2 separate regions of the Homo sapiens genome follow, and region 2 is linked to region 1. The links are contacts of gene promoters, found by promoter capture Hi-C in human tissues and cell types (Jung and others, 2019). All regions are on one chromosome and are shown on one strand. The core of a region is centred on a gene start or on the middle of the fragment in contact, and the rest is flanking DNA. Distances in the headings are between cores, read along the strand shown. Region 1 holds the start of ADCY6 (adenylate cyclase 6). Region 2 overlaps DDX23 (DEAD-box helicase 23).

Region 1 (4,677 bases), core at 639-3,138:
TTTTTGAGACGGCGTCTCGCTCTGTCTCCCAGGCTGGAGTGCAATGGCGTGATCTCGGCTCACTGCAACCTCCGCCTCCCGGGTTCAAGCGATTCTCCTGCCTCAGCCTCTCGAGTAGCTGGGACTACAGGTGCCCGCCACCACGCCCAGCTAATTTTTAATAGAGACGGGGTTTCACCATGTTGGCCAGAATGGTCTCGATTTCTTGACCTTGTGATCCACCCGCCTCGGCCTCCCAAAGTGCTGGGATTACAGGCGTGAGCCACCGCGCCCGGCCAGCAAAAACAATTTTTAAGGAAATTTTGAAGTGAGAAGTCAGGCAAAGAGGCCCCAAAGATCAAATTGCAGGCCAGGCCTGCACAACTGAGAAATGAGAAAGTACCACTTTCCCATTTTCAAACATTATAACAAACATTTCTCTATCTGATTCTGAAAACCCTGTAAGAAAGACAAGGCAGATGGTTTTATTCCCATTTCAAGAGATTGATGATTTACCCAAGGTATATAGTTTGCAGGTACACGTGGCTGATAAATGTTGGAAACTGGCTTTCCCAACTCTTCTTTTCCTTGCCTGAAGCTCTGTCCTGGACTTAGGAATCCCAGTGGTGATTTGGAGTGGACAAGACTTGAGTCTTGAAGGACAGGACTGCAGGGAGGGCTGGTCCTGAGGAGGAAGCATCTTCAGATACCTAGGTCTTGGGATCTTGGGTGGGGAATAGGCTGCTTGGGGAAGGGCTGAATTGGAAGGAGGAGCTAGAGGTCTGACTGAGGGAATGGAGAGGGGGCCTCAAAAGGAAGCCAGGCAGGCTGCCTTCTTCCCAGCTCCAGAATGGCACCCCCTCTAAAGTCACACTCACCTACGTACATCCTGGAGTGAAACTCCTTCTCCTTTCTGCTTCCACCATTACTCTAATCCTCAAAGGGTTAACCAGCTTTCACACGATTTTCCCATCTCCCAGGTAACTTGGGCAGCTGCTCCGTGCTGGAAATAACTAAAGACCCAGTTTCTCAGTTCGTGCACTTAGCAATGCACCCCAGTAGCCCCTCCAACCCCCAGCAGAGAAGCACAGCCCTTTGGGTAAAAGATGCCTGGGGGTGAGGCTGCAAGTTGGCAGGTGCGGGGGAGGGGCTCCCAGAGAGTAGGGCGGGGGGTTGTGGGGGCGGCAGGGAGAGTGCCCCTTCCCTGGGTCCCTCCACTGGGCCCCGAGGTTCGCCTCGGGGCCGCTGCCCCAGAGACTGGGGGGAAGAGGAAAGAAGTGGTGTGCGGGCAAGCAGGCCGCACACACCTGGCGCCTTGTGGAATGAGAGCTTAATTAATTATTAAACTGAGTTCCCGCGGGAGGGCGCAGGGCCGTGACAGGCAGGGCGGGAATGGCTAGGTGGGGGCTGGGGCTGGGGCAGGGGCAGGGAGGAATTGGGGATGAAGAGTGGGCGCGGGGCGCCGGCCCAACCCCTGGGACCCTGACAGGAAGGAAGGCGACCCTCGGTGGGCGGGGCGGGGGATGTAGCCGTGAGGGGTGGGTTTGCGGGCGCGCTCGGGGACCCCCGGGGTGAGGGCGGGAGAGGAATGCCGGAGGAGGCGGCCGGGGTGAAGGGAAGGGGACCGGGCTGCGAGGTCCCCTCCCCGCGGGGTCTTGATCCCAGAACAGTAGCTGCTTGTCTTCCCAGGACTGGGGGAGGAAGCGGCCGGAGGAGAGGAGGGGGCGCGCGGAGGGAGGGGTCCCATTATTTGGCCTCCTCCGCCCCTACCCCGCTGCTAGGAAGGGGAGTGGGCAACTCGGCCCCCACTTCTGGGGAGGGGGAGGGGGATGCCCAGACAAAAGGAGCTTGTGCCTTTAAGGCGGGGAGTCCGGGAGCCAGCGGGGAGGGGACTTCTGGATCCGGGGTAGAGGGCGGCTGCGCTGGACAGCTCGGGAGGGGGCGAGGGCCGGGCGGACGGCGGACGGCGGACGGCGGGCGGGACGGCCAGGACGCGCGGGCTCGGAGGACCGCGGGACGGCCGGCCGGCCGGCCGGAGCCCGCGGGGGCGGCGGGGCGGGGGCCCAGGGCAGGCGCGGAGCCGGGCCGGCAGGTGAGCGCGCTGAGGGCTAGGGGAAGTGGCCGCTCGGGCTCCCGGTGCGCCAGGATTGGAACGCACCCGAGCGGCTCTCGACAAGAGTTTGTGGGTGGGGGCGCCGAAGCCTTGGACGGGTCGTCTCGGCAGTGTTGCCCGAGGGAGTTGGGGTTGGCAAAGGGAAGTCATGGAGGCAGTGGGATCGAGGACTCCTAGGTCCGGCGCTCGCCACCCCCGTCGCCCGCCGCCTGCCTCCCTCCACGGGGCGAGTTCCAGGCTGGCCCGGAGGCCAGGAGGATCTGGCACGTACTGGGGGAGGGGCTGGCCTGAGTTTTTTGCTGCGGGGCTGTGGGGTGTCTCCGAGTTTGGGGGAGATTCCATTTAGGGGAGAGGAACCGGCCTGGGCAGAGGGAGGGATGCCCTCTGTCTGCGGGAGTCCCTCTCCTTCCCCTCACCCAAAACCTTGGGAATGAAAGGGGTGGGGTCGGCTCCCCACATCCCCCAAGGCCTGCCGCAGGGTGGGCAGGGGAGCTGACTTTATTCAAAGCAGACTCTGGGGCTCGACTGAAAGGCTAGAGGTGGAATCAGGCGTGGGAGCCTCTTTGCCCATATCCTCTCCTTACCAGATTACCCCTGTGAGCTGGAGGGACCTGGTGGGGGTTGCATAGTAAAGGGTGATGTGGGAGCCCTCTGTAATCTTTAGGGAGAGTGAGGACTGGGGATGGGAGAAGGCGGCAGCGGGCACTGGACCGACAGATACAGGCCCTGGGTAGGCTCCTCTACATCTGGAAAGGCCCAGAATTGAAGAATTGAGGCCCATGTCCGAGTATGGTGGGTGGTGCTGGCACTGCTGGGCCCCGCCTGGGCAGTGCCTCTTACCATGAACTTTCTGAAGTCGTTTTTAATCCCCTGGAGCCTCCTTTTGCCAAGGAGGGCAGGGGCAGATGGGCCCTGGGGATGGGATAGACAGGAGGTGGCCAGGAAGGCTTGGCAAGGCAGTGGGCAGAGCCATCCTTAGGGCTGGGCCTTGGCCTTGGCTGGTTCCAAACTCTGGTCTCAGCCTGATCAGGGTTTGGGAGGGACTTGAGGTCTGGGAGGCACTGAGCCTGGGCCTGCCAGGCTGAATGGGACATGGCTGTGGCTGTGGGAGCCGGTGGTATGAAGAACAGCAGATCTGTGAGAGTGCAAATGGACCAACACTCAGGGGAGGAGAAGGTAGAGGCACAAGGCTTAGGAGCCTGACTCTGGGGAGGAGGGAGGTGGTCTGTGCTCCCAGGGCTCATAGTGATGGGTTGCTGGACAAAGTGGGTTGGGGGACCATATAGAGAAATTTTGTGGCTTGGAACAGTGCTCTACCCTGTTTCCTGCCATACCAGTCTGGCATGGGGTGCCAGAAATGTTGGGAGGCCGGCAAGTTCTGCGGGATGGGCAGTGCCTGGAGTGGAGCCCAGGGTGGGATGGTTGCAGTTGGTTGGACAATTACATAGCTCTGAAGCTATCCCCTTGGGGGGGGTCAGAGTGTTCCTGGGAGGGTCATGCATTCTCCTGGATAGCATTTGCCCCTTTCTCTGTGAGTATGAGCCAGATGCTAGGATGTGTTTCCAGGGGGCTTGGAACATGGCCAGAAACTAGTCCTTTGGGAACAGGTCCGGGCCAGTGCTGGTGGGGGTGGTGTGTTGGGGGAGATAAGAACAGGGAAGGGGACTGGTGAATGGAGGAGGCTGAAGCAAAATGTTGTGGGTGGTGGATGGTGGTGGGAAACCTGCTCACTCTGGGCTCTGTCTCCAGCAGCTCTGGGGACTGACAGCCAAGGACACAGGGACTGATAGAACCAGGCATCTGACTGGCTAGAAAGACGTGTGTTCTTGCTCATGATTTCCTCATCTTTCCATCTCTTGACGATGACAGAGGTTTGGGTTTAAAGTGTTGTAGAGTGAGGAGAAGAACTAATATTTTTCAAGTGTGTACTTCTTGACAGGCATTATTAGATTCTTTCCTGAGGACCATTATCATTTCCATTTTGCAGATGAAGGTACTGACACAGAGAGGTTAAATAACTTGCCCAAGGCAGTGTGGCTAGCAAATAATCACGCTAAGGTTTGGAACCCTGGTCTCATGCCAAAGATCATGCTTCTAATGAAGTATTTTGAAGAGCAAGGCTTTCTTTGGTGACCTTTTCCAAATGCCAGCCTGACCAAAAGTCTTGTATTCCTGATCTGTCCTTCCAGATGGTGCTGTTGGTGATGTTAAGAGGTTGAAGGGGCCAGGCATGGTGGCTCATGCCTATACTCCCAGCACTTTGGGAGGCCGAGACAGGCAGATCACCTGAGGTTAGGAGTTCGAGACCAGCCTGGCCAACATGGTTAAACCCTGTCTGTACTAAAAATACAAAATTTAGCCGGGTGTGGTGGTAGGTGCTTGTAATCTCAGCTATGGGGAAGCCGAGGCAGAATTGCTTGAACCCAGGAGGCAGAGGTTGCAGTGAGCTGAGATTGTGCCACTGCACTCCAGCCTAGGTGGGGCAGAGTGAGACTCCGTCTTAAACCAAAAAACAAAAGGAGGTTGAAGGACGTGCTGCTCTGTGGGATATAGGAGAAGGGGTGCTGACAGATCTTGGCTGAGGG
Region 2 (4,677 bases), core at 1,588-4,087, 46 kb before region 1:
GCGGCAGAGGATGCTTGAAGAAGAGAGGAAGAAAAGGAAACAGTTCCAAGACTTGGGCAGGAAGATGTTGGGTTTGTTATTCTACCCTGTGTAGCCCCTAGATGGAAGAGGAAAGAGTGGGATGAGATACAGTGTCTCTTAGGAGAGATAGAAACCTGTTCACTCTGGAGTTTGGAAAGGGGAAGGATGGTGGGAGTTTATGAGAAAACATTTTTCTGTTAGATCTCCATTTACCCCATATCATAAGTCTACCCCTTTTTTTCTTCATTTGGGGTTCCTCGTCTGGATTCCCTCCATTCCCTCTCCTCTTTTCTTCCATGAGCTCTTCTGCAGCTTTGCTTTCTTTGGTCTGCAGAAGATCCTCAGGAACGGGAACGTCGGGAACGCAGGGAGAGGATGGAACGGGAGACCAATGGAAATGAGGATGAGGAAGGGCGGCAGAAGATCCGGGAAGAGAAGGATAAGAGCAAGGAACTGCATGCCATTAAGGTGCAGGCCTTGGCTCCATCTTCACTTCTCTCCCACACAAAAATGAGGTTTAGTTATTTGGCCATTGTGATCTCTGCATGTGAGAATTGGGCCTCAAAGCTCATGTGCTTTGTGTTCTGTCCCTGGGTAGGAGCGTTACCTGGGTGGCATCAAAAAGCGGCGCCGAACGAGACATCTCAATGACCGGAAATTTGTTTTTGAGTGGGATGCATCTGAGGACACATCCATTGACTACAACCCCCTGTGAGTGGCTTCAGGCCTGAGTTCTAGGTCTTTTCCACTAGGCAGTCCTAGAGAGCTGATGACTACGGAGGTGGAGGAAGTAAGATAAGCTGGGATGGAAAATTGGTAGACTGGTAGTCAGCCAGCCCTCTGGTGGAAGAAAGACCCTGTCTGGGAAGAACTGTTTCATACTAGTAGTCTGCCCTTCCTTCCTACTGCCGTTAACAGCTCCTTCTTTTTTCTTTTCCTCTATCTCAATCCCAGGTACAAAGAACGGCACCAGGTGCAGTTGTTAGGGCGAGGCTTCATTGCAGGCATTGACCTCAAGCAGCAGAAGCGAGAGCAGTCACGTTTCTATGGAGACCTAATGGAGAAGAGGCGAACCCTGGAAGAAAAGGAGCAGGAGGAGTGAGTGATCAAGGCTAGGGTGGCTGGACAGAGCCCAGAGGCTCTACAGAAAGGAGTTGGAGGGCACTGATTCTACTTACTCCTCACACCCTGCTCCAGGGCAAGACTCCGCAAACTTCGTAAGAAGGAAGCCAAGCAGCGCTGGGATGATCGTCATTGGTCTCAGAAAAAGTTAGATGAGATGACGGACAGGGACTGGCGGATCTTCCGTGAGGACTACAGCATCACCACCAAAGGTGGCAAGATCCCCAATCCCATCCGATCCTGGAAAGACTCTTCTCTGCCCCCACACATCTTGGAGGTCATTGATAAGTGTGGCTACAAGGTAAGGAGGGATAGATTGGCCCAAGAGATCTGACATGTTCCTACACTAGTTTGGGAATAGAGAACTTTGTTCCTTGACTATTTGGAGCCATCGCTGCTAGTGGGCACCAATGTGACCTTTTCTGTCACTTTCTGGTAGAAGTGTTGGCTTTTAGTGATTAGGTTTCTTCTTGGGGTCCCTATTTCTGTGAACTGTACTTGGCATCCTTCCATTGTGCTAGCAGATGTGCTTACTACTATCAGTGGTTGCCCAGGTGGTATAACTCTCCCTGTACCTATTACTCTTTCTTGGGGTCACTGCAGGAACCAACACCTATACAGCGTCAGGCAATTCCCATTGGGCTACAGAATCGTGACATCATTGGTGTGGCTGAGACTGGCAGTGGCAAGACAGCAGCCTTCCTCATCCCTCTGCTGGTCTGGATCACCACACTTCCCAAAATTGACAGGTGAGGTCAGCTAGCACCAGCTGGAGTGGGTTTGTCTGGGTAGGAAAGGTGAAAGTGGCAAATGAATGTTTGATTTTTGTTTTACGTCTATAATCAGAAGCTTTCTTCTTTATTCTTTGTTGGATATTAGGGAATAATTGGATCATGATATCGAAGAAGTATATGTTGCTGGCAAAGACCTGGAGAACTTTGCTATCCTGGAGTCTCTGATTTATTTTATTTATTTTTTTGAGGCAGAGTCTCACTCTGTCACCCAGGCTGGAGTGCAGTGGCACGATCTCAGCTCACTACAACTTTTGCCTCCCAGGTTCAGGTGATTCTCCTGCTTCATCCTCCTGAGTAGCTGGGGATTACAGGCGTGTGCCACCACTTCTAGCTAATTTTTGGTTTTTTGTTTTGTTTTGTTTTTTGAGACGGAGTTTCGCTCTTGTTGCCCAGGCTGGAGTGCAATGGCGCAATCTCGGCTCACTGCAACCTCCTCCTCCCAGGTTCAAGTGATTCTCCTCCCTCAGCCTCCCAAGTAGCTGGGATTATAGGTGCCCGTCACCATGCCCGGCTAATTTTTTTGTATTTTTAGTAGAGACGGGGTCTCAATGTTGGTCAGGCTGGTCTCTAACTCCTGACCTCAAGTGATCTGCCTGCCTCAGCCTCCCAAAGTGTTGGAATTACAGGCGTGAGCCAGTGTGCCTGTCCTTAATTTTTACATTTTTAGTAGAGATGAGGTTTCACCATGTTGGCCAGGCTGGTCTCAAACTCCCGATCTCAACTGATCTGCCTGCCTTGGCCTCCCAAAGTGCTGGGATTACAGGCGTGAACCACTGCACCTGGCTGAATCTCTGATTTTTATGTATTTATTATTTATTTATTTATTTATTTTTTGAGATGGAGTCTCGCTCTATTGTCTAGGCTGGAGTGCAGTGGTGTGATCTTGGCTTACAGCAACCGTTGCCTCCCAGGCTCATATCCTCCTACCTCAGCCTCCCAAGTAGCTGGGATTACAGGTGTGTTCGAACATGCCCAGCTAATTTTTGTATTTTTTGTAGAAACAGGGTTTTACCATGTTGCCTAGACTGGTCTCAAACTCCTGGGCTCAAGTGATTCACTCACCTCAGCCTCCGAAAGTGCTCGGATTATAGGCTTGTGCCACCTTGCCTGGCCTCTGGACTTATTTTTATTTTTATTTTTTTTGGAGACAGAGTGTCTCTGTCACCCAGGCTGGAGTGCAGTGGCGTGATCTCAGCTCACTGCAACCTCTGTCTCCTGGGTTCAAGCGATTCTTCTGCCTCAGCCTCCCGAGTAGCTGGTATTACAGGCGCCGGCCACCACGCCTGGCTAATTTTTGTATTTTTATTAGAGGCAGGGTTTCACCATGTTGGCCAGGCTGGTCTCAAACTCCTGACTTCAGGTGATCCGCCTGCCTCAGCCTCCCAAAGTTCTGGGATTACAGACATGAGCCACCATGCCCAGCCCTGGCCTCTGATTTTTAAGTGAGATCATTGCATTCTTTTCTCATCATCCTCCCCATTCCCATTGCTCCCCGTAAGAGTGACTTTGTCTTGCTCTGGCTTGTGGTTGGATAAGAACCAAAGCTCACGAAGCTGTGGGGCACCCTGTTTACCACAGGATCGAAGAGTCAGACCAAGGCCCTTATGCCATCATCCTGGCTCCCACCCGTGAGTTGGCTCAACAGATTGAGGAAGAGACCATCAAGTTTGGGAAACCGCTAGGTATCCGCACTGTGGCTGTCATTGGTGGCATCTCCAGAGAAGACCAGGGCTTCAGGCTGCGCATGGGTTGTGAGGTTTGTTTTTCTATCTAGCAGCCAGCCTGCTGTCTGGGAAGGCTATCTTGGGGCTTTGTTTCTAGTTTCTGGAATATATGTGCAGTAGTATGAAGAAAGGAGCTGGTTTATATATATGTGCTATTTATTGAGAACTTATGCACCAGGGTTTATATCACAAATAGTATATATCATATATATTAGCTCATTAATTCTCACAATAATGTATGAGAGTGGTATTTCCTTGTTATAGATCAAGCTGAGGTTCAGGTTAATAACTGCCTGAAGTCACAAACAGCTGGCAATGGGCAGAGCTGAGACTCATATCCATAGCCTGTGCTTTTAGTTACTCTTTACTCTGCCAGACCAAATCTTTGACTTTGTGCATTGCCTTCATCTCAGGAAAGTGGAGGAGAGCTCTTTATGAGAAGTCTGCTGTAGAAATTTAGTCTTTTTACAATTTTTTAAAAAAATTTAGTCTTTATACAACCCCCTTCATAGTACCCCTTAGTCTCTCCCATCTAAGAAGTTCCTTCTTCAGGATCTGAAATGATTTGCCAAAAAAAAAAAAGTTTCTACTGATTTTGCCTCCTCTGTCTAATCCTTGCACCTTACTCAGAGACCTCATTCATTCCTGAGAAAATCCAGGCAACAAGTGATTTCATGCCAGTTTGCAGGAGCCTTTACTGCTAAACATAACCAGAGGTTGGGGTCCAAGTTCCTCAGCATTGGAGGTCTGTCACCCAAGTGGGTGGATAGTTCACAGGAAAGAAAAGAAGGGGCACCTGCTGGGCTATAAATGATTATACTGTACTCCTCAGATTGTGATTGCTACCCCTGGGCGTTTGATTGATGTGCTGGAGAACCGCTACCTGGTGCTGAGCCGCTGTACCTATGTGGTTCTGGATGAGGCAGATAGGATGATTGACATGGGCTTTGAGCCAGATGTCCAGAAGATCCTGGAGCACATGCCTGTCAGCAACCAGAAGCCAGACACGGATGAGG

What was found. Contacts are between HindIII fragments. The study calls those that stand out against the background at their distance.
Region 2: a fragment that was not itself captured here is called in contact with the fragment with the promoter of ADCY6 in region 1 in 1 of the 25 tissues and cell types used here (pancreas).

The regions. Positions count from the first base shown.
Region 1 is chr12:48,786,300-48,790,976 of GRCh38, reverse strand. It overlaps ADCY6 (adenylate cyclase 6), which reads left to right and starts at 1,888. Exons shown (of 22, transcript NM_015270.5): 1 at 1,888-2,071. It overlaps ADCY6-DT (ADCY6 divergent transcript), which reads right to left and starts at 1,830. Exons shown (of 3, transcript NR_110019.1): 1 at 1,750-1,830; 2 at 858-992; 3 at 442-664. RefSeq lists an enhancer at 2,941-3,485. The HindIII fragment of the contact is 15,533 bases long and covers 1-4,677 here.
Region 2 is chr12:48,833,336-48,838,012 of GRCh38, reverse strand. DDX23 (DEAD-box helicase 23) reads left to right here. Exons shown (of 17, transcript NM_004818.3): 6 at 1-71; 7 at 356-489; 8 at 620-732; 9 at 976-1,119; 10 at 1,219-1,444; 11 at 1,747-1,892; 12 at 3,516-3,693; 13 at 4,494-4,677. Among named protein-coding and RNA genes, the nearest start is that of DDX23, 16 kb to the left of the region's middle. The HindIII fragment of the contact is 5,776 bases long and covers 1-4,677 here.